Regions from separate parts of the Homo sapiens genome. Here region 1 is linked to region 2. The links are contacts of gene promoters, found by promoter capture Hi-C in blood cells and fetal thymus (Javierre and others, 2016). All regions are on one chromosome and are shown on one strand. Each heading gives the region's core, a stretch centred on a gene start or on the middle of the fragment in contact. The rest is flanking DNA. Distances are from core to core; before and after follow the strand shown. Region 1 overlaps AFG1L (AFG1 like ATPase). Region 2 holds the start of NR2E1 (nuclear receptor subfamily 2 group E member 1).

Region 1 (6,909 bases), core at 1,608-4,107, 200 kb before region 2:
CTTTGCTATTTACGAGCATAGCTTGTCACTGAATGTCTAAAGGTAATACTGATGCCACTGTCAAATCAACACATCAGCTGTAGTAGAGACAAGTTTCACTTCCACCTAGATAGAAGATCTAATATTAAAAAGCTCACTCCCTTGGCTCATAGGGTGGCTAACACTAGTTAATCACAAGAATGCTGTATATAACATTATATGGATTTTAATAAGTACATCTGCAAAATCACTCATAATTCTTTTGTAGTACAATGGATGAGGTATGACTATAATTGTTTGAATAACTGGATCCAAAAGGTGTTGATTAGTTAATTGATGTCTTCCTAAGATAAGGCCTCCAGTGGTATGCAACAAGTAACTTAATTTAGTCCTATCTGATTTACACATTTTAATTAAGGAATGGCTAAAGACATAGAAATATGATTATCAAATGTATAAATGTCATAGTAGGGATAGCCAAAAAAAAATTATATTAGAATCATACTTCAAAAATACTTCAAACATACTCCATTTGCAAAACAAAAATAAATAAATAAAAACAAAAAACAAAAATAAAAATAAAAAATACTTCAATAAAAATCAATAAAATGGAACAACATAAGACTAATAAGCTGAAATGTAATAGAAGAAAAAGAAATCCACTACACAAACATAGAATGAGAGAGACCTAGTTTCACAGCAGGCTACATAGTAAGATCTGGGTCTGTTAGCAATTTAAAATTCAATATACACCATCAATGTGGCATAGCTTACTTTAAAAAAAAAGTTCCCACTATGGCATTACTCTTTTCAGACTCACTAATGAATTCCATGTTACTAATTGCAATGGTTAATTCTCAACCTCATTTTCAGCTTGTAGCAGCACTTAACAGAAGTAATCATCAATTCTTTTTGTACTACTTTTCTTTTCCTCACTTGACACTCTCCTGGTTCTCCTCCTACCTCACCAGCTGCTCTTTCCTGCCTCCTTGAGGACTGATAACTTCCAAATGTATATCTCCAGCCCAGACTTTTCCAATGAAGTCCAAACTCTTATATGTATCCCCCTTGTCACCACAGAAACCCCTACCTCCACCTCCCTAACCAAATCTGCTTTTTCTGTAGTCTTCCCCATCTCAGTAAACAGCAACTTTATCCTTCCAATTGCTCAGGCCAAAACCTTTGAGTTACTCTTGATCCCTCTCTCTTTTTTCATACTCTAGCTCCATTCCATCAGTAAATCCTGCTGACTCTGCCTATATAGTACATCCAGAACCTGCCCTCTTCTCACCACTTTACTGCTCCATCACCTCCCCTCCCCTTGGGATTGCTGCAGTAGTCTCCTAAAAGGTCTCCTTACTTCTAACCCTGAAACCCCATACCCACACTCTATTCTCAACACTGCAGCCAGAGAGATCTTTTTAAAACATGCAATCATCCAATGTTCATTCTAAGACTATTTACTGAGAACCATCTATGTGTAAGACACTGTTATAGGTGCTGAGAACACATCTGAGAACAGGAGAGATAAAAATCACTGCCCTCATGAAGCTTTTGTATCCTGGAAGGGAACAGACAATAAACTATAAATATAATAAATAAGTAAATTATATGGTAGGTCCATAGTGCTATGGGTAAAAGAGAGAGCAGGGTAAAGGGAAGCAGCACCAAGAAGAAAGGGATGTGTTGCAGGTTCAAACAGGGAGACAAGTCTAGGCTTCACTGGCAATGTAACTTCTGAGCAAAGACAAAGGAGGTGAGGGCTTAGCCATGCAGATATCTGGAGAAACAGCACTCCAGGCAGAAAGATGTTCCCATTAAGTCTCTCATGAAATATTTGTGGTTTCTTAGACCTTTAACTGAGCACGTGATGGGCTGAAAGATGCAAGATTTTAAAGTTGTTGTTTTTAATCTAAATATTACTTGTATTTTAATTTTTAAGTACTTTCCTAATAAGCCACAAGTGCTTTTTTAGAAATGATAATTTAAGTGAAGTATTAGAAACTATTCATGCAAGCAAGTTTTCGGTCTTTTTCTAAAATTTAATTATGAGTTTCGTCTTTCATTTGGTTGAGTTTCTTTTATGGGCCATAAAAAGCAGTCCAAAAGGCCTGCATTTTTTGCTAAGCACATATGACATATCTAATATTTAGGGAAAAAAAAAAACAAAAAAACAGCAAGTGCACCAAACATGGGAATCAACTGGATTTAGCTTGCTAAGGATACAAAACTTTTCAAATGCAAATACCAACTGATTTTTCAGATTAAGCCAGTTATAAAACTAATAATAAGCAAAGTCATCAGATTTATTAACACAATACATTTAGTTCAAAATTATGGATTTTTAAAAGCTTGTTAGTTTCCACCTAATTGGATGAGACTAGCACAATGTTTGTTTTTACCTTCCGGTGGCCTGTTGGATGTTGCCACAACGACGACCCCGTTTTTGAACAGATTTTCAAAAAGCTGTTTCAGAATCATGGCATCAGCAATGTCAGTGACCTATTGACAACAACACATTTGTTTTATTTTAATTTCACTTCTGCTGTAACAAATTTGCTAGTGGATCATCTTTTTTTTTAAGATGGAAGTAAATTCCAAGAGAAAAATTCTAATTATCATCATGAAGAAAAGAGTAGATAATTAAAAGCATGAAACACTGTATAGCAGTCTTTTAAACTTGACTCTTCTTTTTTGCAAGCCTATCATTTCTACACAAATTACCAAATGGTTCTATGATAACTTCTTTTATAGAACTACAGGTGGAAAGCATAGATAATTGTCCTAAACATTTAGGAAGTCTAATTAATTAGAACTAACATGACCAACACCCTCCTCCTCTTCCCACCCGCTTCCCACACCCCCTCAAAAAAGAGAGATGAAAAAATAATAATAATAAAATACACAGGCTGTTTGAGATTTCTAATACCTTTCTGGCAAAGGTCCCTGGAAAGGTGACTTTAAATGGTCATGGGCCTTTAGAAATAAGGACAAGTAGCCAGTGAGACATAATCAGCTGCTGTTGAAAATAGAATGATATGACATAGATACTATTGTGCAATTGTTGCACAAAACAATTCAACAGATGGCCCATCACAAAAATAAGCAATTTCATTGTTCTTTTTAAGTGCCTTCTATTACTGTCCATGAATAATCAAAAGGCACTGCAGTCACTTCCAGCACAGCCAGCCTCTGCTAACCTTCACAAACACAAATATTCCTTCTACCAAAAAAAAAAAAAACAAAAAAAACCACCTTTCAAGAATGGCTAATATAGTCCCTTAAAAAAATAACTTGTGACAATACAAGAAATGCATAATACAGATGAAACTATTCCATCCAAGTTAGGTTTATTGATCTTTTCTAAAATTATTTTTTAAATTCACAATTACGAAGTAAGCTTAATGATGTAACTTTTTCTAAAGGCTTTTAAAATTCACAAAGACAACAATTAAGAAGGGAAAGAAGTTGACTCCAAAAATAAATGTGTAATGAAGATTGACATCAATCATTGCAACTTCCCCTAAGTATATAATAACATGGACTTTAGATACTCCCAATGTAAAAATGTTTTGATCTTTCTTTGATAGCACATTTCAAATAATCTCAGTACAACTTGCTTTACATATATCCACAAGATATAGTACATTGTTATTTTTAAACCCCATTAGAGGACATAAAAATTGGTGAATTCTTTCAATTAAATCAAAATACTAAAAGTTACAAACCGAATGGTTATAATGCAATTAACAATAACCTGGGTTGCACAGGTCTAAATCACTTTTCTTTTTACAGCTAATATCTTCTTTCCCACCTGAAAACAACAAAACCATGAAATAGAGATGTACTTTTTTTTTTTTTTTTTTTTTGGCTGTCTCAGGTTATAACTAAAAAACTGCTAAAGATTCCTTACATTAAAAAGACTTCAGGAACTTCAAAATGGTGATTAAATGAAAAGGAAAGTGGTGCTGATATTATTTAATTTGGAGTTTAGGATCACTGTCAAATTTGGCTTCCGCAAAAACACTGACAGAGAAAGTCCTTTTCAAATGCTTGAACACCAGTGGCATTTCTGATGAGAGGACAGAACGAGCTTGCACATTTTAATAGCAACTGCACTTTTAAATTACATTGCCAATACACTGACTTTTTAAAAGAACAGTATCAATGAAAGTTTACCCGATTTTAGAGAATAAAAATGGTCATTTGACTGTATGATTAATGTCTTTGAAAAAAATGTAAAATAGCTTTTGTGCCCTAAGGTTTAGAAAACTGAAGGGACATTTAGCTTGTAACATAATGCAAAGGTTTAAACTGAAAGTTGAAGAAAGCAAACAGTAAAGGCTTGTAGTTGAGTTATAATTTGCTGTTTTTATATTTCAGAATGTTTTTGCCCTATCAGAGTAAATTAGCTTGGAGAAGCTATGACTAATTAATAAAGCAGGAGTCACTTGCTGTAGCCGGGTGCCAATGTATACTCTTTTGATCTTGTCCCCGCACTTGTTCGGCCTTGCCGGGGAACGGTAATTTTACAGTATAAGTGAACAGAAGACAATTGGCCACACATTCTTGGAGAGCTGGCTTTTTCAGTACCCAGCATTTCATTACCACCACGAACAAAAGAGAAGGCTACAGATTACCAATAAGGGTAGTCTGCTAATACAGAGAGTGGAGACATTTCATTAGCATTAAAGAGAAAAGATTTTTTTATAACCTAGAGTTGCTTTCCATTATGACTCACTTAAGTAAAAAAGAAAAAAAATCTAATGGTTAATTTACATGTGTGAGTGCTTGAGTCTCAGTCATCCACTGATTGGTACAGTGCCATATAATGAGTGACAAACATAAGCATGCATTATCAGTAATTAGGATTAGCACAAAAATAAGCACCTATTTTTTATTAGCAGTTTTTAATAGCTTTCTTCCTGCTTCATAAAAATGGTTAAACCTATTTTTTAAATGATATTGATAGCTGATAGAGGAGAATTTTGCATGATCTTCTGCTCATCAGAATTCTTTTTTTTTTTTCTGGACCCATATTAGTAAAACATCTATTTAGTGTCCCTCTCAGAAGAGATATGAAGAAATAACATTTTTAAAAATCAGTTTTCCTCACTAATCTGATGTCTTCAGAATCATAAACAGTTTAACATGTAACATAAATATTCCAAGAGGACATAATGAAGATCCTAAGGAAAACTCTGAAGATAAGCTATTATTTATTTCACCAACCAAAACACATGTTAAAAACAAAAAACAAACAAAAAAAAACTATCCAAACACATTTCTCAACCAAGGTAAGAATCGTGTATCTAACACCTCAGGTAAAACTGAAATGCGCCTACTTGAGTGTAGAGGGTGGGAGGAGGGGGAAGAGCAGAAAAAAGAACTATTGGCTACTAGACTTAGTACCTGGGTGACGAAATAATCAGTACAGCAAACTCTTGTGACACATGTTTACCTATATAACAAACCTGCACACACACCCCTGAAACTAAAAGTTAAAAAAAGCTGAAATTCTACACTTAGTAAGGAAGACCAAACTAATGAAGAGCATTCTGCAAGTGTAATCTGAATGCTTACCAAAACATAATCTTTAAAATTCCTTAAATTCAAGAGCACAAAAAAGGAGTATATCCATGTTTTTAAGCAGCAATAATTACCATTCGTCTCCCTAGTAAAATAAATATTATATTAATTAACACTACCTAAAGGCCAATAATAACTAGCTAAAAATCAAGGCTACTAATACGATTCCATTTTAAAAGTGAAGTGGTGATTGTAGATATACTGTCACTAAGAATAAAGTGCCTTAAAAACTCTTTTTTAATAAATCAGCAAGTATTGTACTAGGCTTAATAGGCTTAAGGATAATTTTTAGGTTCCATCACTAAAACATCTACCAAAACCCCACCCAGCTCTAGAATTGTATATTTAAACACATAATACAAGACTTTATATACTAAGGAAAATGTATAGCATAGCTGTTACTGGTAAACAAGAGCATTAGTGCTGGACTTAAACTGTTAGTTACCAGTTGTGTGACCTTGGTCAAGTTACTGAACCTCTCTGACCCTCAATTTCCTCATCAATGCAACGAAAGCAGTAATAATACTTACCTTGCAATATTGTTATGAGACATAAAGTAAACTCTCAAGAAATGAGAGACCATTAACTTTGACTATTACCTATGTATGGTATATATGCTAGTATTAATATAATTCTGTATTATTAATGTATAGCTACATAGAATTTTAGCTGTAGCTAGAATTATATTTAGCATTATACAGTTATTAAGAACACAGGCACATAGAAAAACACTCAATAAACAGTAACTAATATTATAGAACATATATAATAGATGGAATATAAGCATTCTAATAAATAAATGGGCAATACCTCAAATAGTTCATAAAAGATGGATTTAACAAGCATGTAAACAAACATGAAAAAAAATCAACCATATTATTTCCTAAAGGAATACAAATTAAAACAAGACACCATTTTTTATGTATTCAATTAGACAAAAATGTTCAGATAATTCAGAATGATGACAGGAAAAAATGTGGGTTGAAGTTATAATATACCTTGGGTTCTGTAAATGCTGATTTTGCTTGAGAAATGCTATTATATGTAAGGGGAGTGGGACTTAATATGGGAACCACTTCCACAGTTTTCATTTGGTATTAGATTCATTCATTCATTCATTTATTTATTCACTACTTATTCATTCATTCTCAGACACTGTCCTAGAAACCTGAGACATCAATTAATAAAGATTCATGCCTTCAAGTTTACATTCTGGGAATACAGATAAACAATAAACACAATAAATAAGTAAATTACATATAATATGTTAAAAGGTGATATATGATATGGGAAAAAAGGTGGGTAAGGGGCACCAGAAGTGTGGGGGTCAACGGTAAGCTG
Region 2 (7,037 bases), core at 3,189-5,688:
GTTTAGAAAGGGAGGGATTCTTTTCCTCTAAGGTTCAAGAGTCCAACAAGTGCCTGAAGCGGTTTATAGGGACTTAGAAATGCTTCCTCCCGCAAAACAAAGGGAGTATTAAACTGTTAACTTAATTAACACTTTAATTTTAAAAATAACAATAGTTGATAACAATTGACTTATTAACACTTGCTTTTCTCTTCTTCTACCTATCCGAAGGCCTCCAGTTTGGGCCCCAGCGGCCTCAGGCCTCCCTGAAATTCGACAGCTGCTGCCGAAAGCGCTTGGGTTGGGGACTACGATGGGATTGAGGTGGGAAGGGGCGGCAGTGGAACGTCTGGGCGAGGGGAGTAGGGGAGGTGAGGGCGTGGCGCGGGGAGGGCCTCGAGGCACCGCAGGTGTAAACTTGCTCCTGGAACCCGAGGCGTCCGGGCGAGCTTGCACCGTGGGTCCCAGACTCGTCTCAGGTGGAGGGGGTGGGGGAAGGAGAGCGCGGGGGACCGTGCTTGGGGGTGAGGGGGTGTTCGGTAACGACCAGGCTCGGCCGGGTAATTACAACCCCGCGGCAGCACCTGCCTATAGAGCCACCAGTGACCCGTCAAAAAGAGTAGCATGGGAATTCGGACGGCGACAAAGGCGGGCAGGGGAGGCGCGCGGCGCGGCGGCCACCGGCTCGGCGCCCCCCTCCCACAGGGCGGGAGGGGAGATTGTGCTGTGGGAGGGAGGGGCTGGAGAGGGCCAGGCAAGGGCACAGCGGGTCTTGTCCTCCACTCCTTCGGGCCTGTCACTGCGCCCAAGGGAGTTCCTGGTCGCTCAGGAACCGGGTCTGGAGCTCCGCTGCACTGCACTCACTCTGGAAGCGGTAAACTTGGTTTCCATATCTTACAACCATCCTCTGCTTAACACGCGCCCTCTGACCGCTCCAGGGTCCACGTTTGGGGCCCAGCAGTACTGTCACCCCAGCTGTCCTCTTCCCTGTGGCACTGTTGAAGATGCCAAGATGAGTGAGTGGGAGGAGCAGTGGTGGGGTCTCTTTTTCCCCACTTCCCATCCGGACAGGAGGCCCATGACAACATCTCTGGAGAACCCGATGAGGGTGGAGGGAAGACCAGTGCAGGGTGGGGGCCCCTCCTCGGATTCCCCCGCCCGAGCTTCCGGACTGTTGCCCTCTAGGCCACCACCAGTGCGAGTCCTGCCTCTGAGCAGACCTCTGAGCCGCGGCTCCCGGGGCAGATTAGAAACAGGCAACCGGGCTGGGGCGGGGCCCAGGAGGGAGGGACGCGAAAATTCCGGGGCATAGCGGGCCTGTGCCTCAGACTCCGCCACCCAGCCACGTTAAGGTGACTTGGGGTCACGAGACAAGCTGGTTGACCCCGTTGCAAAGCTCCTCTCATTTAGCAAGCCGAGCGAGCTCCGACGTGAGGCGAGCCGGAGTTTCCTGAAGCTGGAAAACCGTTCTTAACTTCCCTCGCCAGGGGGTCCCCTCGGGGCTTTTTGTGTGTCATAATTGCCTAAAGATATATGGCAGCTTCGATTACTGTAATTACCATCAGAGGCTGTTGAAAGAAGTTAGTCTGGGCTGCAGGGGTGACTGGCCAGGGTCTCGTTACCACCCAGGCGGGGCTCCGGGTGACATCGCTCTGCTCTCCAGCCGCGAGAAGCCGGGCAAGGCGGGGGCTGCAGCTCTGTCTGCTCGACCCAGTCCTGACCCGGCCCGCTGCGCGCCGACCTCCTAGCTGCCCCGGGCCCGAGGGACGCAAGTCTCGGGTTGGCTGCCGCCACCGGTCTGGAAAGGGCCTAAATGCAGCGGCGCCACCGGCGGGGGCCGCTGTCCTGCGGGCCTGAGAAAGCTCAGCAGCCGCGTCCCGACCTGAGCCGGGGCTGGAGGCTTCCAAGGCCTCACTCAGGCTCTTGGCAAGTTAGAACGGCCAAAGTTTCCGCAAGGAGCCCGCTGTGGTTTTTCCCCCAAAGTCCGGAGGGTTGGCCTGCCTCCTAGTCCACAGCGGGGGCGCAGCCGCAGGCGGGCAGAGCTCCCCGCTCACCCCTCCCTCGCCTCTGAGGCCTCACCTTTCAAGGGCCCCAGGGGCTCCACACCCCGAAAAGGACGAAAGAGCCCGGGGCTCCTTACTTCCAGGGGTGTAGGCGAGGGCCTGTCCCGGGGCGAGCGAGCTAGGAGGCCTGCCGAGACCCACGGGCTTCAGTTTTTGCAACGGAGGCTCAGAATGCAACAGAAACGGCCTCCTGAGCCTCCTGGGAAGGACACTCACGCCCGGGAATGCGGGCAACAAAAATCGAGGTCGCTTTACCTCCTGGAGATTCCAACAGCGAGGGCCAGGGTAGGCCCGAGCCTAAAGGGAAACCCAGTCCTGGGCCAGGGTCCGCTCTGCATTCCGGCCGCGGTGAGGGCTCCTTCTCTGCTCCCTCTGCCCCAGCTCGAAACATTTCTCCTTTTCTTTTTGTTCACGTTCATTTTGCTCTAATTTTTTAAAGGTCAGCACCCAAAGCAAAACAAAATGAAAACACAACCTCCTTCTTGGAGGGGGGTAGGAGGGCGGGAATTGCATCCCACTTAAGTGAGACTTCATTACCAGTCCTCAGAAGTATCTCCGATTCTCCCAACTTTCAAAGACTCAGGACAATGAGGGCGAGTGAAAGGGGGAGGGGGAGGGAAGGAACGCACAGAGCGCCAAAAATGCTATCTGCGAAAACAACACAAGCAGCAAGGCAACTTCGGGATATGGGGACTGCGGCGGCAACGGTAGTCCCCAGCCTCAGACCCTGGAGCCCGCAGCCGTGGGCCACTGGATGGCGGGAACTGAAATGCCCCCGGGAGATCTGAGCACCGTGACCGCGCCTGCTCAACGCTGGCTCGGGCCTGCACATTCTTGGGTTCCGCAGGCAGGGTGCAAGCAAATGCCCTCGCACACACACTTAGCCCTGCGCTCGTGAGTCTCGGGGTGGTGAGAGGTCAGCTGCGGCCTGGCGTTCGGAGAGCCGGCAGCTAAGGAAGTTCGAGGAAGGAGAGAAGCGCACGGAGGGAGCAGGCCGCGCACTCCTGCCTCTGCTGGGCTCCGGCTCGAAAAGTCCTTGGGATTAGGGATTTGGTCCTCTCTTTGCTAGAGTGGTTCGCCATACTTTAAATTCCCCAGTTATGACCTACGCGGATTTAGGATTAAGGAAAATGTGACTTTTAAATTGTTTCTGCTTCCCAGTTTGCAGGATTATTTGAAATAGCTAGAAACGGGGTGCAAAGCATTCCATTCAAAATCCGCTTTGCACAGAGTTGCTTTTGCGCGCTGGAGCTCGGAGTTTTGAGCGAGTGTGTTATTGTGCTACCGCCTGGAGCTGCGGCCCAGTTCCCGCCCCCATGGCCCCCCCATCCAGCACCTGGCGGCTAAATGGAGACAACTCATCCGACTGGTGGGCTGCGCGGGTCGTAACCTTCTCACCGCACCAGACAGGGGGGATCAAGCAATCCAGAGGCAACGAAACGGCTCTCCCCTCTCCACGAAATGCTCCAACTCACGGTCTACAGGTCTGGGCCGAACGCACACGCCCGCTGGAATCCCTCTCAGGGGCTCAGATTCGCAGCGCTCCAGGCAGGACCTCCCCCAGCCTCCCCGCTCGCTCGCCCCAGGCTGCGCGCCTAGGCCCCACGGCGGCCCGAGAGGTACCCACTTGTTGATCCGGCTGGCTTGCTCATGCTGGCTGTCCCGGGGCGGAGCGGTTGGTGGGCGCTGCCCGAGTCCCGGCCGGCAGCGCCCGCCTCGCCGCCGGGCGCCGCCGCTCTCCAGCTGCCCTCCAGCCTGCAAGGCTCCTGGGCGGGACAGGTGGGTGTCAGTCGCGCGCTGCGCTGCTCCCTGGGCGCTCAGAATTCGTCCAACAGTGGAAATTTAAGCATCCTTAAGTTTCTTCCCGGCTCTTGCAAAACCGCAGCTGCTGGGAATGCTGCTTGATATGGACACACACATGGACAGACAGATGGAGAGATGGACAGGAAGACTGAGGAAGAAGGAAGAACAGCAAGAGAGGGATGTTGAAAGACAGAGATGGAGACACGAAAATGGCCTTCCTACGGAGCGAAATCCCTCTTTTTCCCCATTCCTGTCACTCAGTCTTCGATCTCTCCCTCTACATAGGCATGCAGAGTGTGGGCAATCTCTGCCGACCGCTGGTCTCCCAAGGAAAGAAGGAAAACACTACCGCAGTCTCAGAGGCAGACGGGCTCCGCGCTGCCGGAACCCAAGCGCAGAGTGGGAAAACTAGATTGCTGGGAAATCTTCCGAGGGAAGAGGCGGCCAGGTCCGGGTTTCCGGGGAGAGCCGCGCACGCAGCGGCGAAGGGTCCCCGAAGTTCATTACCCCGTGACTTTGTGCCTGTCGCTGCGGGCTGGGTCCCCTGTAATATCTCCAGAAGCGCTCTGACAGGCAGCCGCGGGGAGGGGAATAGGGCGTCCCTGGCCCACTTAGCTTTTCCCCCAACTCCTGGCGGGGTCTGACGTCAGCCATGTGCGGGGAGGGGATGGGAAGAGGGAGGGGGTTAAATGCTAATGATATTAATGAACCTCCAAGCGGCTCCCAAAGAAAATGCAGGCGCTGTCGGAGCTTACGAGTTAGAAAGTGTGAATATGGGAGTGTGGCTCTGTGCGTGCGTGATGGTGAGGACGGTGCGGCTCGTAATAAAAATGAATTCGTATATTTCACGGCAAGAAGGAAGGGGAGGGGTGACGGGGCTTTCTCAAAACGCTTTTCCCCCTCTCTCCAGAGTGCCAGATAGATTCGCGGAAGAAATTGGGTGGCTGTGTGCTGGCGTGTGATTGTGCGCGCCGGACATGGCCATGTGAGTTGGTTCATTCTTGGTCCGGTGCCCCTTCTGTTGGGTAAAACTTGGATCTGGCCCGAGGTGAGTAATTTACTCATTTTGCACATATCTACGGAAAGTCAGGGCTGAGGATGGGGTCTTCTGGAGGTTCCGCGTTCCTTCGGCCTTCGCGCAGTGGGTTTGGGCACCAGCCGAGGGGAGGATGCCGCCAGCTTCCCCAAGCAGAGCTGGCCCATCCGACGCTGAGCGAATCTCTTGTCGCCTCCATTATCTGCACCGGGGCGGCTGGAGGGCAGAGCGTTCCCTCCCGCCGCTCGTCCTCGGCGGGCGTTGCGGGCTCCCGCTCTCCGGGCGGAGGAATAGTGAAGAGAGGCCCTCATCCCCTACCCCCTCCCCATTCCGCTTGCCTTCCCGCGATTCCTGAGCTCTCTCGCGCCTTGCTCTGTGCGCGGCGCTGGGAGAGCGCATGCCGAGGGAGCGATGATCCCCGATCTCTAAGAGATTAATTCTATTTAAGCTCTCTCGGCAGCTTGAACTTGTCGAACAAGAGCTTGCCAGTCCCTCCTCAGGGCGTGGACCCGGCCAGAGGTCAGAGGTTACACCTCCCGCCCTCCGCTCGACGTTCGCGGGGAGGGGAGCTGTGGCCGGCGCTCTGCAATTCCGCCAGCCCACCCCCCGGTCCCTCTTTCTCCAGACTCGGTGTCATCCCGGGCTTTCAATCAGAGTTCGCCTGTGCGTGCAAGTGAATGCTGGAGTCCCCCGAGCCCTGGGAGGGCGCAGCAGGTCCTCCGCCTGGGCGTCCCAGGGGGAGCGGGCTGTGCGCTCCAGTGGGCTCCGACAGCACGTGATTGCAACTTTCTGCCCAGCCTTGGCTCGGCCTCGAGCTCGGGGTCTCGCACACCACACACACCAGAGCCTGTGTCCTCCTTAGTGGGGCGCCGCGACCAAGGCTGGGGTCCCGGGGAAAGAGCAAGATGGGGGGATCTTTATCTCTCAGTTTATTCCCTCCTCCTCGGTTTTTCGAATTGGGACGAGATTGGGGGATTGTGGGACGAGGCCATAAGCGCGTAGGGGTTTATTAGGTGACAGGAGGAGAAATCAGCGTTTTTTGACAGCCAACTTGTACAGCCGCTTGTGGAGCTAGCCCGACCGGCGGCGTAGCGCTTTCTCGAACTCGGCGCCCAGAGAGGGGAGGAATTTCGGGCAGGATTTGAGAAACACAATAAGATGCCAGGCTCCGTTTGGAATCCTCAGGTTCTGGTTCACGCCAGAAATCCACTTGCTTCAGCCACCTACCACCACCACCCCCATAACGCGGACGCGATTATGGGGTTCTTTGGTTCAGGACAAAGAACTTCAAGGGTGGAACTAATTTATCTGGGGCGAAGATGAGGGCAGTGTGGGGGGTGATGACTAGACCCAGGCCTGTCTGCAGGGGAAGCATTTAGGGGTCTGTTTCGAGAAGGAGAACTACTAATTGCTTTGCCTGTGCGGGGGCTGGACGATGGCTTTCCTGGGCTCCAAACCACCTCTTCCCCTACTCTCGAACGCTCCTGCCAGGCTGGCTCATTTGTAGGCACCAAAACTTCTGGAAAATACTCCCAAGGCTCATCAAATTGTCTCAAAATCAAAATGGGTATCTTCCCTCTTTTTCCTGTCACCAGTCCCCGATCAAGCATGGTGTCAAGAAGATGCCTACGGAATACACACACACCCCATTCAGCCCTGGCGAAAGGCACAACACTGCGCGCACACACCCGCAGCATATGCATCCTGTGTTCTGTGCGCCCGGCTGTAATTATCGGCGCGCTTTGCATAAATCACAATACAGTTCTGAAATCATCGTGATGACTTTCTGGCATGACTGGTTCAGTGGTAACGGCGGCAACAAGCTCCAGGGTAGGCGGGAGGGGCTGAGGCCCCGTCGCCCACCAGGTCCCAAATAAGCCTGGAGCCTTAGTGCGGGCTGCCTTCTACTCAGGCAAAGCTGCTGCAGGCCACGGGGGACCTCGGATTTAAGGCGTAGAAACTTGGGGCTACCATGGGTACAGCTCAGAGAAGAAAGCCTTTGCAGGACAAAGACTATGGCTCTTCATCTTTCTATCCACAGGCCCCAGCATGCTGCCTGATTCATAGTAGGTGCTGCATAAATGTTGGGCAAATGAAGGGAAGTCACCTGCAGATGCCCTGAGGGGCCACTGGAGGCACAGCCAGGCTAAACGCTG

Evidence for each region. Contacts are between HindIII fragments. The CHiCAGO score rates a contact against its expected background, and 5 or more counts as called.
Region 1: a fragment that was not itself captured here is called in contact with the fragment with the promoter of NR2E1 in region 2 in 1 of 17 cell types (megakaryocytes); the score reaches 5.3 in megakaryocytes.

The regions. Positions count from the first base shown.
Region 1 is chr6:108,361,805-108,368,713 of GRCh38, reverse strand. AFG1L (AFG1 like ATPase) reads right to left here. Exons shown (of 13, transcript NM_145315.5): 6 at 2,382-2,481. Among named protein-coding and RNA genes, the nearest start is that of AFG1L, 70 kb to the right of the region's middle. RefSeq lists an enhancer at 2,797-3,339. The HindIII fragment of the contact is 1,049 bases long and covers 2,333-3,381 here.
Region 2 is chr6:108,163,423-108,170,459 of GRCh38, reverse strand. NR2E1 (nuclear receptor subfamily 2 group E member 1) reads right to left here and starts at 4,438. Exons shown (of 9, transcript NM_003269.5): 1 at 3,670-4,438. The coding sequence starts at 3,694. RefSeq lists enhancers at 1-889, 890-1,791, 2,692-3,593, 4,494-5,395, 6,297-7,037. The HindIII fragment of the contact is 9,879 bases long and covers 1-7,037 here.